Regions from separate parts of the Homo sapiens genome. Here region 2 is linked to region 1. The links are contacts of gene promoters, found by promoter capture Hi-C in blood cells and fetal thymus (Javierre and others, 2016). All regions are on one chromosome and are shown on one strand. The core of a region is centred on a gene start or on the middle of the fragment in contact, and the rest is flanking DNA. Distances in the headings are between cores, read along the strand shown. Region 1 overlaps PAMR1 (peptidase domain containing associated with muscle regeneration 1). Region 2 holds the start of ELF5 (E74 like ETS transcription factor 5).

Region 1 (6,757 bases), core at 1,328-3,827:
AGCACTCTAAAATTACCTTGTTGTTTAGTCTCCTTGCTTATTATCTATCTTCTAACCCAGAATTAATCTCCATGAGGGCCGGCACGTGCCTAGCTGGTAGCTGGGGCACTGCTATGCTGACAGCACCTAGTACAGTGTCTGGGACAGAGCTGGCCTCCAGAAATATGTGTTCAGTAAGTGAACAAATGGACAAATGAATGCATGAACGCAAATATAGTTGCACTATCTCTTCAGCTTCGGAAAAAACTGTGGCTTCTGTCAGGTGGTAGCTTCTCCCTTACTCTGAAGACAAAGATATCAAGGCCAAGAGAAGGAGCTGATTCCTTAACACACACAGTGAGTGCATGGTGGCATCTGCATAAGAAATCAGCTGTCCTCTTAGATGTTAGAGCAGGCTGTACAAAATGCGATTCACAGGACCTACACCCCAAAAGCTCTGTGATCAACCCTTTGTGAAGTAAACACTGATGAAACTCGGTTATTGGATTTCTTTGTTAATAGTACCTTTTAGAACACTTACAATCAATATACTGATTGTCACTATATTCCAGTGTTCCCTAATGCTGGCATGTTGGGTTTTTACTGTAGGTGGCAGAAATATCCCTACTCCCAACATTTTAGGCAGCAGTTATGGGCCTTTCTATTTCTATTTTTTCTCCAGAGTGTGGAGGAGAAGGTACAGACATACATTTTGTGAACTTGATACTCATGTATTCCCTTGGGAATCCTGGAAAAATGCTTTTGCCTCTCTTGCCCTGGGATGTGGCTGCTGCTTTTCTTGTCTCTTGGAATCGGGGGCTTAATGTCATCTTCTGTGTTTCCAATCTGGTGTATCTCAGTGTTTTCAAACCCAAGACCCCTTTTGGATAAGCATGGATGTGTCAGGTTTCCTTAACCCCTGAAATTCTGACTTGGTGCTACTTTCTCTACTCTTTGGGTGAGAATTATCGTTGCCTAGAAGATAATTACCTTCTGATTCTTCCATCAAACGGAAGAGTGTGCAGAGGTTTTTTTTGTTGTTGTTGTTGTTTTCCCCTTTACTTAGTCTTGCAAAACAATATGAGCTTTTTTTCATTCTCCAACTATAAAATTACAATAAAGTATCCATTCAGTCGTATATTTGGCAATATCTGTAGCATCTCCATAGGCCAGGCACTGCGCTGGACACTGTGAAAACTGTGGAACGAGGCAGGTGTTCCTCTCTGCCTTCAAGTTACTTGCAGGCCAGTGGAGAAGACAGGCCACACATAGACACACAAAAAGTCAAGGAGGTAAATATAAGAGGTTGAAATTTATGTCTACAGTATGAGAAAAATAAGGGATCTTCTTTGGAAAGAGTGGTCAGGGAAGCCTCTTTGAGGAGAGAATATTTAAGCTTAGGCCTGAGGATAGGAAGGAACCAGCCACACAGACTGGGAGGAAAAAGTGCCCTGGAAAAGAGACCAACACATGCAAAGAGTCTCTGCATGGATTATGGCACCTTGCTCCACCTGGGCAGGCACTTGCATGTGCACATACATGCAAACAGTGCACAAATACATACTCCTCTGCTAAGAGAAATTCGCCAACCTCTGAGGACCATTTTCCTATCCGATCAGGCCAGTGACACCATCTGTTCCTCAGGCCTGTTCCTCATCTGGCCTTGAATGAGCCCAGCGGTCTCAGGACTGTCCAGGGCCCATCTGCTTCCCTCCGTCACCCTGTCCACCCACAGATTTGTCATGTTGAGCCTGGAGTTTGACTACATGTGCCAGTATGACTATGTTGAGGTTCGTGATGGAGACAACCGCGATGGCCAGATCATCAAGCGTGTCTGTGGCAACGAGCGGCCAGCTCCTATCCAGAGCATAGGATCCTCACTCCACGTCCTCTTCCACTCCGATGGCTCCAAGAATTTTGACGGTTTCCATGCCATTTATGAGGAGATCACAGGTAAAGGCCAAGGAGACAAATGTGGCATTTTATGGCTTGCTCCAGATAAATATCTCCTTTCCATGTCCCTTCCTTTCTTCCTCTCATCCTTATTAAAACCTAGTAGGCTGTGTTCTTAGAAACAGCCTACACACTGAGAAAAAAGAAATAGCAAGGTATATTTCAGAAAAACTCACTCAGAACCAGAACTAGGAATGATCTCCCTTATACAAATGGCAGTGGCTAAAGCACGGAGAGGCTGAATGACTTGTCCAAGGTCACACAGATATAGGGGCAGAACTAGGGATTTGTACCCAAGCTGTTCGGCTCTAGAGCTCACACAGGGTGACCTCTCATGGTTGGGAGCATTGGCTTTAAATCCCTGACAGATCAAGCTATGTGACCTTGGGTAAGTTCTTCTACCCCACTGGGCCTCTGTTTCCTAATGAGTGATAAGGGAGTAATAGTAGATCCTTCTCCATTAAGGAGGCTCTGAGAGACAGAACAAATGGAGAGCTTGGCATAGTCTGGTACATAGTAAGAATTCAACAGCTGCCCAACCCTAGGCATACATTTACCCTCCACTTGCCACCTATAAAATAGGTATTAAAAGACTATAATGGTAAATGTCATTGACTTGATGAGTAACTTTAAGCCTGACTGTAACTCTTGCTGTGATCATATTAGGAAGTAGGATTTGACCAAACTGAACAAAATGCTTAATCCTAAGCAATCACCCCACTCTCATCGTTCTGAGATCAGATTGCATCAGGTTTTACAAAATAAACACAGGCTTGAAGTTTGATTTAAAAAAAAAAACTGAATTAAAAAAGAACTCGTAATGGTATTCTGATCATTAAGACTTCCTTATTCATAGGGTATGACATGAAAGTCTCAGGAAAGAAGGTGGGTGGCTGAATAATCAGTGTTTCTTCAGTCCTGTCTGTTCAGCAAGGCCAGGAGACCCTGCTCCCCGGTCTACCCCTCTTTTAGGAGGCTGCCTACAGGAACTCTCAGCAGGTGCTCTCTACAGTCTCTGTGCCTGCCCCCTGTGGAGCTGTGCAGGGCCTGGGAGTTCTGATGCTTTGCTGCTGTGGTGTGATCAGCCTGTGGCTGAATCCTCTTCCCTTGGTGACACCCTGCAGGTATAGGCTGAGCAACGTCCCACATGAGATGTGTCTGTGGGGGCTTAGGACAGTCAGCAAGCCAGGTAGGGGCAGCAGTGGCTGGCCAGTCTGTGAATCTGGGACTGAGGGACGGTCAGGAGAATGTCTTGCTCCTCTGAAATGACCTCCTCAACCTCCCCTGGAGAACTTTGGCAATACTGGCCTGTGTTTTATCAATGCCGTCAAATAATACCACTTCCCATTTTTCAAACATCCCTGTTTGTTCACTTGCCTTCAAGATATTTCCTCTGGCTAAAGTCACCTGTCTGCAACCTGCACATCAAAATCCATCCTTCATAGCCCCTACTACATTCTTCCTCCTCTCCTAAATCTTTTCTCTTGCTCCAACAAGCTATGGCTTTGCCCTTTTTTGAATGTCTTGTAGCATTGCCTCTTCTTTCTTCGTAATACACTAACTATATTATGCTTCAAGTCATAGTCGTTTTATATTTTTCTTCAAGTAGTTTTAATCTGGTAAATAGGACATCCTGTTCTTCCTTGTATTTCTCCCTTGTCATGTTTTGAGCAAGTACTCAAGACAGGTTTGTTGAACTGAGCCAAGGAATATACTTCTACATTGGGATAAATGAATGTAGGATTGATGGATAACACACAGATGAATGTTTCTCAAAATCTTTTCTGTAGAAAAATAGTCCCCAGGATGCCTTGTAAAATGCAGGCTTTGAGGTCAAATAAGCTTGAAATTCACAATGTATATTAGGAAACTCACAATGTATATTGGGGCATTGAACTGAGAAGTTCTGCAGTAAAGAAATCTGGTTAATTAGCATTGAATGTCAGCAACATTTCCCTAACATATTTGAGCTCAGAACCCTTAGTAAAACACATCAACATCTCAAGGGACTAATGATTACAGAATGTAAGTTTGGAAATTATTGAATATACCTTCAACAGTGTCATAATGATTGTCTTCCAGTTGCATTGCCCCAGTACCCAGGATGGTGAGCTTTTATTTGAAAAAAGATGGTCTTCAGCTACCCAAGGATGTCTCTGTCCGCTGAAACCCCTATGGGAGAGATACAAGCATGGCTCTGCTTTCATCAATTTAATGTTCTTGTTTGCATTGCCTTGTGGTCTTCAGACTATAGGAGCGTTAAGCATACTTCTGGGGCCCTCAAAAACATCAAATAATATCACCAACATTTGATATTTAATGAGTATCTATTTTAGGCATTTTCAAATAATCATAACATGAATTCAGTAAAGGGAAGAAAAAACATTGCAAGAAGACTTTAATAAGGAATTAAAAGACTTTGGTCAAGACTCTGGGCCTGAAGACATCGACTCAATGTATAGTGGCACTGAAGGATGCCTTTTCTCTTACAGCATGCTCCTCATCCCCTTGTTTCCATGACGGCACGTGCGTCCTTGACAAGGCTGGATCTTACAAGTGTGCCTGCTTGGCAGGCTATACTGGGCAGCGCTGTGAAAATCGTGAGTATGCTTCCTAAGTGGGAGTTAAGGTGTCAGATGGGGCTGGTATGGAAGGATTTTAAGAGCTTGCAGGGCCAACTCTTTCTTCATGTCTAGGATGCTCTGTCCAAGATGGTGCACAGTGTGGATACTCCCAGTGAGTGATTCTCAGAGGGGCATAGCTGCTTCTGAGTCAGGTTCTCTTCAACTTCCTAGGTTTGTCTATTGACATTTCCAACCCTCACTTGCTGCAAATACCTCTTAGAAAGATACAATGGCCTCTAGTAATATTCAGAGCTCAAAAACACTGAAAAAGGTCAACAAACTTTCCTGTGGCTCAGTCTGTATCCCTGTCCATTCTAAGATCTGTATTTTAGATTTATACTCTGGCACCATTCACAGGCTCCAATGTGACTTATTGCATAACTTGAAGCCCTGCAATGAGGGTGGTAGATATACATTTTGCTGAGCAAAATTATTAATAGCATCCTCTTTCGTGAGCAAAGTGTCTTGAATTGGATGACAAACTATATGGTCATGTTTTAACACATGTCTTATATAAGGCCTTGGTTACCAGACCGAAAACAGGTGTCACAGATGGAAGCCATCAGCATGGAATGTGATGTGCATAAGGACAAGAATTTGGGGGAGAGCAAAGGAGGACAGAGAGTCTCCTAGGTAGGTTTTCCCAAAGCAGATCGTGAGTTGAGAATGTGTACACAAGTGAAGTGTTAAGGACAGGCTCCCTGGGGAAGCTTATAGGGGTGTGGGAAGCTGGCCTGGGAAGGGAAGGAGGCCAAGTAGGGGTGCGATTTCAGGCAAAATACCAACCTCAGTGTTAACCTGTCATGAGATCTGGAATGTACATTACTCCTTAGAGTAATGTTCTAGCTTTAAGGCAAGGGATCTGGGCTTTCATATGCCCACAGCAATCAGTCATTGGGTGCGGGCTGCCCTGGGGAACTGGAGGACATAAACCGTGGGCACATATGGCTTTCTATGCATGTGGGCAAAGTGGTTCCAGTAGCCCCTGAGCAGTTCCCTGAAAGAGAATCACAAGTACAGGCCATTGGAAGTAAAATACCATAGGATGGGGAGGGGAAAAGGGCCCACAGAAACACAGAAAATAGACCCGAGGGCAGAGCACCAACAATATCTACTACAGTCACTTCTAACTAGAGTGCACAGGTACTCTGTGGTCATCTAACAGCCTGGTCTGGCAGTATTCTCTAAAGTTTGTGTATGTTTTGAATTAATTTTCACTAATGTTTTCCTTTTTTTTTTTTTTTTTTTTTGAGATAGAGCCTCTCTCTGTCGCCCAGGCTAGAGTGCAGTGGCGCGATCTCGGCTCACTGCAAGCTCCGCCTCCTGGGTTCACGCCATTCTCCTGCCTCAGCCTCCCAAGTAGCTGGGACTACAGGCGCCCGCCACCACACCCGGCTAATTTTTTGTATTTTTAACAGAGACGGGTTTGCACCGTGTTAGCCAGGATGGTCTTGATCTCCTGACCTCGTGATCCACCCGCCTCGGCCTCCCAAAGTGCTGGGATTACAGGGGTGAGCCACTGCACTGGCCCAGTTTTCACTAATGTTTTCTTGCAAACAATGCAGATGGAAACCATGGTTTCAATAGTGGGTCCCTGTGTGTGCCATTGATTTCTACTAAGAGCATCCTTGCCCTGGTTTGGCACAGCTCACTTGAGTGTGACTGCTAGAGACATAGAAAATGATGTTCTGCTTCGTGGTTCTTGCCTCATTTGAGCCTGCCATGTTGTGTGCAAGGCAGACCAGAGAAATGTTGCATTCTCTTGGCTTCAAGAATTTGTATGTAGAGCGATTCTAGATTCTTGACAATAGCAAATACTGAGCTTCAGAGGAGGAAACAAAAAGAGGGAAGGCTTAATTTCTTGATGAACGAATTACACAATACTTTGATAAAAAAAAAAAAATAGAATTGGAAAGAAGTAAAACATCACCAGATAAAGCCAAAATGTCTTTAGGAAGCTGAGTCAAATTAGGAAAGAAAAATAAATTGGTCCAAAACTTATGATTAAAATATTCACAGGTAGCTTGTGAGTCAAAACAGATTCCTCAGCATTGTTATTCCATTAAGAAAATAAGAAACATAATGAAAAAAGAATGTAAAATATGTCACTATGAACTGATTCATAACTTAATTCACAAACTGTCTCAAATTACTTTAAAGCATCAGCATAGATGGGCAGGAAAATTCTACCTTGCTGGTTT
Region 2 (6,776 bases), core at 3,009-5,508, 960 kb after region 1:
TTTAAGAAAATTGGTATCTCTTCAACTTAGATTCTGCCTCACCGAGAGGTACCAAATGGTAGCATAATGGTAAAGCTTGTGGACTCTGGTGCATAGGCTCCATATATGGTGCATTGGTGTATCCTGCAGAGGCTCCAGTACTGCTTTAAGCTTCATGTGCTATGTGATATTGGGCAAGTTACTTCAACTCTCTATCCCTGTTTCCTCATCAGTAAATTTTAGGTGATAATAATGGTACCTACCTCGGAGGAATGATATAAGGATTAAATGACTTAATACCTGTAGCATGCCTAGACAGTTCTTTGCACCCGGTAAATGCTCAGCAAATGGTAGCTATTATGATTATTCATTGTGGAAGAGGAAGGGCAACATTATCCTACTTGTTATGGTAATGCCCAAAGGTTGGGGCTCTCAACCAATATCTGTGTCTCTCTCTATAGCCCATTACAATAACTGCCATTTATTGAAATTTACCATGCACCAAGAATCATAGTAGTAGATACTTCACTGGTGAGGAAATTGTGACCCTGAAAAGCTGATAGCTCATCTAATGTCTCCCAGGTGGCAGGTGCTAGGAGTTTGTTGTTATATACACCCACTGACAGAAATCTTTTTGTTCCCAAATATTTGAGCCAATAGAGCATAGAAAATTGCATTTTCTCCAACAGACTCTTTTCTAAAAATAATATGAGAATAATAGTGACAGGGGTCTAATCCAAAGCCAGTGCATTTCACCATCACACTGTAAATCTCTCCTTCCAATGGTATTATCTGTGAATTTACCTAAACTTGTTTTTCTAACTCGCTTTTGTTTTCAGCCTGTGCTGCCTCTTGGGATGGTGGTGAAGTTGGCAGGTTGAGGGAAAAAATAAATGACAAAGAAATGTTCACCTTGGTTAAAGAAAGCAAGTTCTAGGAAAAGCATCTGAGATGTGAAGCCTGTTATATGTAGTGAAAAGAATAGGATGGAAGCCTCCAGCCTCTGTCAGATGGTATGCCCTTTAAGTCACATGATTTTATGATCCATGTAGGTATTGAGTGCGTTCTTGATCCCAAGAACGATACTAGGCACCAGATTCAGTGAGGTACCAGAATTTCCACTCTATACTAACAGAAAGATTGTGCCAGCAATAACCATGAATCCTAGAAATCTTGAGCCAACAGAGACAGATGGGCCACCTTTTAGGCCAGTGTTGAGGCCAGAGCAAAAGAAGAGAGGCCAACTTAAGCTCCTGTTTCCACAGCTTGCCTTTAACATTGGTCAGGCCTGAGTTCAGTGCAGGTTTGGCCACTGACCAACTGGGTGAGCCTCAGCAATCATGGCACCTCTGTTTCTTTGTCTTAAAAAAGAAAATAGTGATAGCTACCTCCCACGATAATTGTGAAAAATTACCAAGGAAATACAAGTGAGTCATCCCAGCACAATACTTGGTACATCATAGATGCTCTTTAGGTGTGATTCTCTCCTCCCTATCCGCAAAGAACTGCCCCAGGAGCACCCAGAAACTGATTAGCACAACAGTTAAGAGGATGGGCTCCAGAGGCAGGCAGCCTAGACTAAAATACTTGCTCTACCACTTAGCTGTGTGACCGTGAACAAGTTACTTAACCTCTCTGTGCCTCAGTTTCCTCATCTGTAAATTAGAGATGATCAGTAACTTCCTTGTCGAATATGTATGAAAATTTAATGTAAGGAATATAACAGGTCAAAATGTAAATAAGCCACACTTAGTTAGGGCTCCTTCTACTCCCCAAGTTTTCACTCATTTAATTCACACAACAACCCTACAGGAAATGTATTCCTTTTTTCCCATTTTACAGATGAGGCAACTGGGATGCAGAGATGTTCAATAGGCTTCCCAGACTCACCCAGACAGCAAATGGCAGATCAGAGATTCAAACTTGGGAAGTCTCCTTCCAGAATCTGTTTTCTTAGCCACTACGTTACAATTATAAGCCCAATTGGTGTTACTTAATATTGCTGTATAGCCAGGACACCAGAAGCAGGATAGGCTGGGAGTTCTAAAATGTCTCATTCCTTCTTCTGCCCCCTCCCTCCACCCTAGTCCTTTTACCTTCCTCTTCCATCCCCAGTCCCCATTCTTGTTGTCATTCAACACTCATAATGAAGTTCTTAGATGCTTCATGTTCAATATCATCCAAGATCTCCATTCCAATCAAATTTAAGTTTAAAGTGATAGTTACACTTAATTAGAGTCAAATTCTTCTTTTATTTTGGGTTTATCTTAATCATCCCTTTTATCCACTGATCCAGAAGCCTGCAATTTCACACACGGGCACCCAGAAATGCTATATTATTCATTTGGGACCGTGAGACAAACAGAGTTCATGGTCTTGTACATCCATTGTCAGAAGACTTTTATACTCAAATAATTGAGTCAGTTGGGCAGCCACAGCCCCTGGGGAAAAAATTGAGCCAAAAGAGTATAGAAAAAATATAATTTCTCCAAAAGACTCTTTTTTTTTTTTGAGATGGAGTCTCACTCTGTTGCCTCGGCTGGAGCGCAATGGCGTTATCTCGGCTCACTGCAACCTCCGCCTCCTGGGTTCAAGCGATTCTCCTGCCTCAGCCTCCTGAGTAGCTGGGATTACAGATGTGCACCACCACGCCCAGCTAATTTTTGTATTTTTAATAGAGATGGGGTTTCACCAGGTTGGCCAGGCTGGTCTTGAACTCCTGACCTCATGATCTGCTTGCCTCGGCCTCCCAAAGTGCTGGGATTACAGGCATGAGCCACTGCGCCCAGCCCAAAAGACTCTTTCTAAAAACAGTATCAGAATAACATGTTTTCCCTAAAAACCTCTCCACTGAGAAGAATGTATATGTTCAGAAAGAAACACTGGTAACATTTCAGAAATCAATGACAAGATAGGCCAGTGCCCAACAATGGAAAACACAGTGTGTGGGACTATCACAGTGCACAGTCCCCTAGAAACCAAAGAGGAAGAGAAGTACAGAATTTTAAAGCTTGAAAGAGGCCCAAAGACCATGTAATCCAGTTACTTGCAAACCCTTTCTAAGGGCAGATTCTTTTGTTCAAATGAAATCTTACCCGGAAGATTTATATAAAAGCTGAGATGCTCTTATTGAGTCAGGAAGGAACGGGGTGGTCTAGAGCCTAACCCACTCTACTCCACTCCCATCCTCTCACCCGCAAAAGTCCTTGTAAGGGCTCCAGGGAGCCCCTGGGGTTCCTCAAGTCACAGTTTGAAAAAAATCACTATTTCAATCCCACTTCCTCCTTTTGCCACTGGGGAAAAATGAAGCCCAGAGAAGTCCAGGTTACCCAGCCAAGATAGGGGTCTAGGCAGTCACCTATCTTCCTTCAACAATTTTTCCATGATGACACCCCGAATCCTCTCACGAACTGCCTTTTGTTTCTGCAGACTATATGCGTATTTGTATTTGTGTGTTTGTAACCATGCCCGGTGATCCCAAGAAAACATAACAAACCAGTCCTTGCTTTCGCTTTAAAGCTTGGAGTCTGCCATTTGAATACAACATCTCGGCTGCCCAAGATGGCTAGAAGCAGAATGCAAAAAGGCACAGGGTTATAAATACCTGTCTCATAGATGACCTGGGACACTGTGCTTTGCAGCCTAAATTAGGCAGAGTTTCTGTTGTCACGAAGAAGTACTAAAAAGCGGGCAGTTCTCAGCGAGACACCTGAGAGCTGGCATCCACATGAGGAGAGGCCCCATCACTTACATTACACTCATGAAGCCCAGAGATGTTAGCTACATTTTTCTAGGTAGCACAGCTAGGAAATGATGGACACTGAATTTGAATCTAAAGGCAACTAGCTGCAAAACCTGAGGTCTTAACACTGGGCCTATAATGCTCTTCCTTCTCACCACATGGGAAAAACGGAGAAAGACATGATCTTACAAAAGCACTGGGCTCAGCCAGCCTGGGAGAGAGGCAGCGCAGACCGGCACCAGGGTGGAATCTCTGTGTTTCCCCTCCAGCTTGCACAGAGGAAAATTCCTCACCAAACGCACGATCCCCGCACAGCTCCCAGGGACAAGAATTTTCTGCTTGTTTACTGAGTCCCCTGGGCTGGGAGTGGGGGGTTGCAGGGCAGGGGTGAGCTGCGCACAAAAGCAGGATAAAGGTAAACTTTCTGCATATGAGAACCATTTCCCCCCCTCCAAGGAGCCGTGTCACACTGTATGTCACCGTCATCAAAGGGGCTGTGCGTAAACCTGAAAAACCAAACGGACCTGTCTGTAGGTGTCACTTATATCACAAGGCTACAGGTGTCTTTATTTCCACTGCACGCTGGTGCTGGGAGCGCCTGCCTTCTCTTGCCTTGAAAGCCTCCTCTTTGGACCTAGCCACCGCTGCCCTCACGTAAGCGCCTTTTCTTTGCTTTTTTGGATGAATCGTAAGGGGTGTCAGGGCTCAGAGGCTCGGCCTGGGGCCTGGGTCTGCTCGTCCATCTCCAGCTCCAGGGCCGGCACCTGCGCTGGGTGCAGTCCCAGGGCCTCCGGGAGCTGTTTGACACGGATGTGACGGCTTGCCTCAGAGAGACCTGCTTGCCTCCGCAGGCCGTGTGGCCACCAGCCCTCCTCACAGCCACCACTCCCTCTGGATCCCTTAGCTGAACCAAGGGGAATTAAGAGAACGCGCCCAGGCGCTCAGTTCTCTATCCTCCCTAAAGCTTCTTTAGGAAGGGAAGCTGGATTTTACTCAGAAAAATATTCAGCTTCAAGGAAAGCCCCCCACCTACCCTTCTCCCCTGACTGAATTCCTTTCCCCACCGGCCTGCCCACTGTCCCCCACCCCCTCGATACAGAGAACTCCCTTATTATAGTTTGGGGCATTTTCAGGAATTTGTACAAAACAGTTTTAAAAGAAACCCATTTGCCCTCTGACATCTCCCCAGAAGAGAATGCTTCCAGAAAAGCAATGGTTAGCGTTTTTCCACTGTGTTCTCAGGCCTTGTCAGACTCTGCAGTGTGTGGGGTTTCTGTGGGGTTGCCCCCTGCTGACAGCGACAGGTAGCACAAGCTCCCTCCTCAGGCTGAAGCCGGGCCTGCGTGTGGATGCCTTTTGTACGCCCGAAAGTGTGTCAGACATCACTAGGTGCAATCGCTTCATGTTACAGATGAGGAAACTGAGGCCAGAAAGGCTAGATGACTTAGGGAGGCAGCTCTGTGGTTCAGTCTAGTCCAGAGACCCAGGGAAAGGGGTGGTTTGCCCATCCGAGTGAACGCTTGATTCTGTTGTCTTCGTGTTCTCTGCAATACTGTTTTTCATAATCTAAGGTATTCTCGGGCCGGAGTTTTCAGTTTGGTCATCTCCCTTTTTCAGAAGTCACCAGAGTGGCAAATTTTTAGATACATTGTTGATGGCTGATTTTTCCCTCTAAAACAGGATTGAATATATGTATTATGCCCCGTCCTTTGCATATATCGGATTGCATGATTTAAAAAAAAAAAAATCCCCATTTTAGAGATGAGGAAACCGTAGTTCGAAGAGGGGCATGAATATTTATATACCACATCTATATGAAAAAAAGCTTAAGAATTTCAGCAGTCTGGGTAGTAAGAAATGTGCCCCACGTTCGCAGCAGCAGAGGTAGGATTTAACCCCTGATATATGTAATCCAAAACTGGTAAGCTTTGCATCGAAGCCTACAGCAAACTACATGGCATACCTTTTTGGATCTTCGCTGCACCTTCAGAAAAACAGCTACAAACAAACAAACACGCAAACTCCCTAAGCGAGCTAAAGAAAAATGAGGAATCACTTGACAAGAGGTCAGCAAATTGGTTCTCACAGTTGCTAGGGTTCCTCTCAGAAGAACAAACCCTCAAGCACCCAACCCTCAATCTTTCTTTAGCAGTAAGTGTTGAAATACTCCACTGGGTTCTCCTCAGTGGGCCCCTTCTTAGGGAGGTCCAAGGGCTGGGAAATTGACCCTCCCTTGCTCACAAGTCTTGGGACGGAGTGGACATTTGGGTATCACTGAGGCTTTAAGGAAGGAAAACCGATTTTCTTCCCAATGATACCACTCAGAGGGTGGGGTTGAGGAAGCCCAATCTTGGCCACTTTTTTCTATATTTTGCACCCTATGGCCTAGTTCTGCCCAGTGATGATTTGGCCCGTAAACAGCCAATGTGTAGATGCTTAATTGGGCCAATTTTTGGTCACATGCCCAGAGTGAAGTTGATGATCACCACCAGAGTCAGGAAGGAATTTTCCTCCTCTGGCAAACTGGCCAAGGCTGAGTGGTTTGCTCCTTCCCCTCTCTCTGGGAGGCTGAGCAGGGGTGCCGGGTTGCTCAGGCCATGGGAGCCACACCTGTTATTGCTGCCTCTGATTTGTGTGACACTGAGAAGCCCACAGGCCTGTCCCTCCAACTCGGTGGACCCTCTCTGTGTGCATTTGGTGTGTGAGCCAGCTCTGAGAAGGGTTCAGAAGCCACTGGAGGCATCTGGGGACCTCAGCTTCCATGCCATCTCTGCCTCACTCCCACAGGTACCTGCAGCCAACTTTCTCATGTGTGAAGTGAGCCCACCTGATTCCACCACCTTGTGTTAATCATTCTTGAGCTTTTCCTACTTACTAGGCAGCTAGAATGATGACTACATTTGGGGGAAACTGATTCCAGCTTCCACGGATCTATCGGTGGGCAGTGAGTGAGGGTCCAGAGTGTTTAAGGTACCCAGCTAGGCTGGGCAAAGAATATCCAGTTGTCCTGAGGTATCTACCTCCAACTGGGGTAGAAGGCAGTGGGCACAGGAGA

The links. The method cuts DNA at HindIII sites, captures the fragments that hold promoters and counts their contacts. A CHiCAGO score of 5 or more calls a contact.
Region 2: the fragment with the promoter of ELF5 here is called in contact with a fragment that was not itself captured in region 1 in 1 of 17 cell types (naive CD8 T cells); the score reaches 5.3 in naive CD8 T cells.

The regions. Positions count from the first base shown.
Region 1 is chr11:35,465,776-35,472,532 of GRCh38, reverse strand. PAMR1 (peptidase domain containing associated with muscle regeneration 1) reads left to right here. Exons shown (of 11, transcript NM_001001991.3): 5 at 1,715-1,932; 6 at 4,425-4,532. Among named protein-coding and RNA genes, the nearest start is that of SLC1A2, 50 kb to the right of the region's middle. The HindIII fragment of the contact is 2,399 bases long and covers 1,378-3,776 here.
Region 2 is chr11:34,511,276-34,518,051 of GRCh38, reverse strand. It overlaps ELF5 (E74 like ETS transcription factor 5), which reads left to right and starts at 4,258. Exons shown (of 7, transcript NM_001422.4): 1 at 4,258-4,375. The HindIII fragment of the contact is 1,187 bases long and covers 3,501-4,687 here.